Linked DNA regions of Homo sapiens: region 2 is linked to region 1. Evidence: promoter capture Hi-C in human tissues and cell types (Jung and others, 2019). All regions are on one chromosome and are shown on one strand. Each heading gives the region's core, a stretch centred on a gene start or on the middle of the fragment in contact. The rest is flanking DNA. Distances are from core to core; before and after follow the strand shown. Region 1 holds the start of RSPH4A (radial spoke head component 4A). Region 2 overlaps RWDD1 (RWD domain containing 1).

Region 1 (3,152 bases), core at 326-2,825:
TGTATTTTTGTAGAGATGCAGTTTCACCATGTTGGCCAGGCTGGTCTCAAATTCCTGACCTCAACTGATCCACCTGCCGTGGCCTCTCAAAGTGCTGGGATTACAGGCATGAGCCATCTTGCCTGGCCCTCTGGCTTGTCTTTCAAAGAAAAAACACAAAAGTGCTGGGATTACCTGGTGAAAAAAAGACAAACTGCTTGGATTACAGGTGTGAGCTACCACACCTGGCCCTCTGGCTTGTCTTTCAAAGAAAAAAAAAGCCTCCATTACAGCTTGCCAGCTGCAAGGGAGAAATTAAGGGGGAAAAAATGCTAACTTCCTCAACTCTTGCACCAATTACCAAAAAACCCCAGAATTTATTGTTCTAGTTTATCTTAATGTTCTGTTTTTAGAAATCCAAGCATTCTAAATCCCAGACATTTGACTTTAAAGAGTCTCTGTACCAGCAGAAGTTATATTCAACATTTTGTGTGTGTGCACACAGTTTTTATCAAATTATTTTAGTCTGTGATTCCCTCACCACACTGAATGGAGGAGTATTATGTTCTTCCATGAAGTTAGAATTTAGAGCAACATCTTGCTAAATAGAAGCTATATCAATGTAAACTGTCAAATGCCAAGTATTTGTTGGTATATTTAGAAAGAGAAAGAAATACAAAACAATTAACATTAAAGACTTTAATTAATATATGGTTTATAGTTAAGTCCAGATATGGTCCAATCTTCTATACCTTCTTCATATTGGAGACTGTATACTATAAATGAATAGTCATAATCTTGAACTTAAATCATTGCAAAATTATGCATTTACATTTACATTATCAAATAAAAATTATATTATGCCAATATAGTTTAGTGTTAATTTGAATTTCAATTATTAGAAAACGGGTAACCCATGAATTGCCTATTTATAGGTTTTCTGCATTGCCTTCTCAAGTATAATATTCTGCCTAATCACCAGGAGATTCCTTATAAGCAGGAAGAACAAAACTCAGGACTGCTTTGTCTATTCTCCGAGTCTTTAGAGTTGGTTGGTTGTAGCTGATGCACGCTAAATGTGAGGCTTGGGGTCTCCTGGTCAGCACACTGGGGTCCCATTGTTACCTGCACCTCCGAGATTACCAAGGTCAGTCTCTTCCTCCCTCTCTACCCCTCACTCTCCTCTCTCCCTCCCTCCCTTCCTTCCTCCGTTCTTTCCTTCCTTCCTTCTCTCTCTCTCTCACACACACACACCCTCCACACACACGCTTCATGAATACACTGTCCCTCCACTAACGCACGACTCGCTCCTCACAGCACAACTTGGATCAGTCTCAGACCCCTAAAGGTCTCTCGCATGGGGTCGCCATTCTTCCTACTTTGTGCTCAAGGCGCAGGATCTGGAGTTCTCGGTTTCCAAGCAAGACTGGTCGAGTCTAGGTCGGATTGGCTGCGATAGAACGAGGGGCAGGGGTTGTACCGAATCACAAAGCTAGGATTTTCATCTCTCTCTCTCGTTCTCTCTTAGTCTCCGCCCTCGAATCCTGGCAACAGGCGCGGTGAGTTTTTCTGAGAGGAACCCGGCCTGGGGTTGCTATGGAGATAGGACGCAGCAACTCACAGAGCAACCAGGACCCAGAAATCGCTTAAGAGACCGCGGCAAAGTAACTTAACTGAGTTGCCTTCTTCCATATTTTCACGCCCCTTTCATCCAGAACATTTTTTTTCTTGAACTGCTTCCATGGAGGACTCAACCTCCCCGAAGCAAGAAAAAGAAAACCAAGAAGAACTAGGGGAAACAAGGCGGCCATGGGAAGGAAAGACAGCAGCTTCTCCCCAATATTCTGAGCCTGAGTCGTCTGAGCCCTTGGAGGCGAAGCAGGGGCCAGAAACTGGACGCCAGTCCCGAAGCAGCCGTCCTTGGAGCCCGCAGTCTAGAGCCAAGACGCCTCTGGGTGGCCCCGCGGGACCAGAAACATCATCACCTGCTCCTGTCTCTCCGCGGGAGCCCTCTTCCTCTCCTTCTCCCCTGGCTCCGGCCAGACAAGACCTCGCGGCACCACCTCAGTCGGACAGGACCACGAGTGTGATTCCTGAAGCTGGGACACCTTATCCTGATCCTTTGGAACAATCATCTGATAAAAGAGAATCAACTCCTCATCACACAAGCCAGTCAGAAGGAAACACCTTTCAACAGTCTCAGCAACCCAAACCCCACCTGTGTGGACGAAGGGACGTGAGCTATAACAACGCTAAACAGAAAGAGCTGAGATTTGACGTTTTTCAGGAGGAAGACTCAAACAGTGACTATGATTTACAGCAGCCGGCGCCTGGGGGCTCTGAAGTGGCCCCCAGCATGCTTGAGATCACCATTCAGAATGCTAAGGCTTACCTGCTGAAGACTAGCAGCAATTCGGGCTTTAATCTGTAAGTCTCAGAGGGAAAAAAGATAAATGTTTGGCAAAGCAAGAGGGTGTGTGAGTATCTCTGTGTGAGAGTGTGTTTCTGTGGGTGAATCAAAATATATTTGAAAGATTGTGTTAGTAAAAGAGAGTTAATGACATAACTCTGGATCACATGACTCAAAACAGGTCATTAATGGAGATTCTTGTACCTTCTTTTTCTTAACCTTTTTTTTTTTTTGTCCTTTTCCTCCAGCTTCTTTAAAGACCCTAGGCACACAACAAAATAAAACTTAGGAATTATGGAATCTCGGGCTTGAAAAAGACCATAAAGACCATAAAGTCCAAGCATCTCTCCAGGATGCTTGTGAAAAATAATTGTCTACCAGTGAAAGCAATCACGTCTCTCATCTGTAGATGCTATTGCTTGCATGGCTTTTGAGTTCCCAACCCAGGCAGTGCTAGGGTGACCACCATCTCAGTTTGGCTGAGCGCTGAAAGTTCTTTATCCTAAGAAACCCCTTAGTCCTCGCAAACTCGGAGAATTGGTCACTATACAAGCTACCTGGAACACATGCCATTTTATCCAAGTCTCTTAAAATGTGATGATCAATAGTCTACATATGTTCTGCCCATCCCATTATAGCTTTAATTTTAGAACTTATGACATGTATAGATTTCTATAGATTTTTGCTTCCAGAGTTACATAATGATAGGGTCAGTAGAATTTTAGGGCTAGAAGGGCTTTTGGAAAACATCTAATACAACTCA
Region 2 (3,152 bases), core at 291-2,790, 36 kb before region 1:
ACTGTTGATAATATATATTTATGATGGCTTTAGAAAGTTCCCAGGTAGGAAAAGTTGAATAGTTCCCATGATTACTTCTTCAGTAATCCATTGCTCTTTCATTCTGAAAAAGTCTGCAGAGCTGCTGCCAACCTTGACAAGTACCAGTGCTTCCTGGACAGGGAGTGAGGCATAGGCTTTTCTCATAGGCTTAGCAGCCATCCCTGGTAGCTTGAAGTTTCCTTGTTTACTTTTCAAATGGTTCTGAGTACAAGTTTTCTTTGTTACTGTTTTTCCTCCTTTCATTCTATTCATTTAGTTCTTGTTTTATTGGGGCAATATTAATTGAGTTTCTAGATACTGCCAGATACTGATCTAGGAGCTCTCATAGAGTTGTTATAGCATTCTTGTTGAGGAATAGATGATAAACAGAGATGAGTATTAGATAGACATAGGCTATAAAATGACATACAAAGCTTTGTTATTTATATAAATGTTGATTTATGTGTCTTGTCTTGCTTAGTAAATTACATGCAATCTGATGTTTACATTCATAGCTAATTCATTTTATAATTCTATGAAAGATGGTAGAGGCTTAGTAAGCATATGTGAAAGAAAGTTTGGTTTTAGAGATGATGTGGTAGAGAATGACAGCAAGAAGACATAAACTTTAACAAATCGGTATTTACTGTTTGTCATGGAGATTCTGAGTTATATCTCACAATATATAAGTATAAAAATCAGTGAAACATGAGTATCAGTGGGTAGTTTCAGGTGAGAAACATGAAACTCTTTGCCATTATTTTTGGGATTTTTTAAGAATGTAATTTTCCATGTATAGGTGGAGATTTTAAAATAAACGGTAAACTACCTCATTTTTTCAGTTGACTTGGTAAAACTCCAAGAGGGTTATCTACCATAGTTATTTCTTTCCAGATTAAAGACAACCCTCCATTTAAATAGAAAGTTGATGGTAATTTTATCATTTCAGTGTTCTGTTCAGTCTGTATTTGTGGAAATGGAAATATAGCCTAGGGACCAGTTTCTAGGACTGGGTACTGATAATTTGCTAATAAGGAAAAGCATCTGCCTTAGAAAGCATTTCAATAACTTCTGTGTGTATTTTCTTGCAGTATTATCAGAAAATCCACCCAGCTTCACCATTACTGTGACGTCTGAGGCTGGAGAAAATGATGAAAGTAAGTCTTATAAAAAATACTTGTGGTTTTTCTAAATTTCTCAGGAATTTCACTCATTCTGTAGGCATTATGCTGGATATTGTCATGTGGAGGTGCTAAGGGGCTGTTACGAATCTGCTATGAATGTTGTATATTTCTAGTCAGAATTTACTGTGTGAACATGACTTCTAGGGAAATAGAGAGGAAATTAATGAAATATAGTCTGGCACAATAAGCTTAGTTTTTAAAAGTGAAATAGTAATATTAATAATACAGCAGATGAAAAAAGGTAGGAAACTTTTGTTTTGTTCAAAGCAATACTTCACGTGCAAACATATTTCAGTGGTTGTGTGGTTCCTTTGAGTGACTATTATTTTTTCATGGCTGTTTTTCTCTTTGAACATTTAGATTGTTCACTGGACATTTGGTGTTATAAATGGGGCTGGATATATGTCTGTCTGCATGTTTCTGTCTCTTTCTTTTGAAATAACGTAACTATAAAAACCAATAAATTAAAGTTAAATAAATTAAATTTGGAGATGTTTGGGGGAATGGTATCTGAAGTTTATTTCTACTTTTAGTCACGTTAGTTGATATGGTAATTTGATAAAAAGGTTATGTAAATTGGAACTAACAACCCTACACATTTTTTTACCCCCTTTGAAGCTAGTAAACCTAAATTCTGCCAGGAGCAGTCATTAATAGCCAACTTTTATGGTATTACTTGATAACTCCAAATCTGTCTAGTATACTTGAAAATGAGGTTTGCATTCACACATTATTGAAATCTGACTTAAAAGGATATTGAATACATTTATTTACTACCAAATTGATAACCAATATACTTTTGCAGATTGGTATCTAAAAATTTTTCTGTAATGCTTTAAAGCATGAAATAAATACTATACTGACTGTTCTTCAAACCATTTAAAATTTTCCTTTGTAAATAAGCCAGTGGCATGATTTGGGCTTCATATGATGCCATTATGGGTTCCAAAATGGTGTGGTGATGCTCATTGATAAATAATCCAAATAAAATTTTCTTTAAGATTACGCTGAAATGAAAAATAAAATATAAAAATTTCTTGTGAGAGCTCCCATATTCTGAATAATAGCTTTATTAGGAGCTAGTAATAGCTCTATGAAATAGGTGTACTCAGTGCATTATCCACCATACTTTCAAAATTATTTCTTTGAAACTAAATCCTGCATTGTACTTTTTTTTCCCCAAAAACTCCTTTTTAGTGAACAAACTAGTAGAAAAGTGGGCAAAGGGCATTGATATACAATTTCTAAAGGTAGTATTAAAAGAACGATCTCACAGGTAATTAAAAATGCAAGCTAAAATAATATATCCAGCAAATTATTAGTATTGGAAGATAGCATTATGCTGTTTGGAATATGAATCGAAACACATGTTCAGGAGAACTATTGGAATCATGAAGCAGGAGACTTTGAAAATGTTCATATTCTTTGATACAATGACTACTGTATTTATGGGTATCTATTCTAAGCACAGTATCATAATACAAAATAATACATGCAAGGATGTTTATAATGTCATTGTTTCTATCTTAACTAATAAACAGTGACATACTTATAAAGTGGAAGTATGGTTGTATTGAATAAAGACTTGGAAGTATTCTCATGTTATTTTTGAGATTTTATATTTATATATGAATATGTACATTTTAAGCAAAATTTTATCCATCTATACATAAAATTTTGTTTAAAATGTAAATATATGCAGATAAAAATAATGTAGTTTTATGAAATATTTTTAAGATACTTAAAATATACCAAAATGGAAATAGCGATCTCTTCCTGATAATGGGATTATTTGTTATTTTATTTTTCCATTATTTTATTCCTAAATTTTCTCTACTGAATGCCTTTTACTTATAGTAGAATCAGTTTTTTTTTTTTTTAAACTTAGTTATTTAAATGGTTAAATGCATTTTAATATACCTGCATGGTGAAAATCAATTTGCAATT

The links. The method cuts DNA at HindIII sites, captures the fragments that hold promoters and counts their contacts. A contact is called where the count stands out against the background at its distance.
Region 2: a contact is called between a fragment that was not itself captured here and the fragment with the promoter of RSPH4A in region 1, in 1 of the 25 tissues and cell types used here (hippocampus).

What each region holds. Positions count from the first base shown.
Region 1 is chr6:116,614,904-116,618,055 of GRCh38, forward strand. It overlaps RSPH4A (radial spoke head component 4A), which reads left to right and starts at 1,576. Exons shown (of 6, transcript NM_001010892.3): 1 at 1,576-2,406. The coding sequence starts at 1,721. RefSeq lists enhancers at 1,626-1,725, 1,776-1,895. The HindIII fragment of the contact is 9,568 bases long and covers 1-3,152 here.
Region 2 is chr6:116,579,183-116,582,334 of GRCh38, forward strand. RWDD1 (RWD domain containing 1) reads left to right here. Exons shown (of 7, transcript NM_015952.4): 2 at 1,113-1,178. Among named protein-coding and RNA genes, the nearest start is that of RWDD1, 9.3 kb to the left of the region's middle. The HindIII fragment of the contact is 4,443 bases long and covers 1-3,152 here.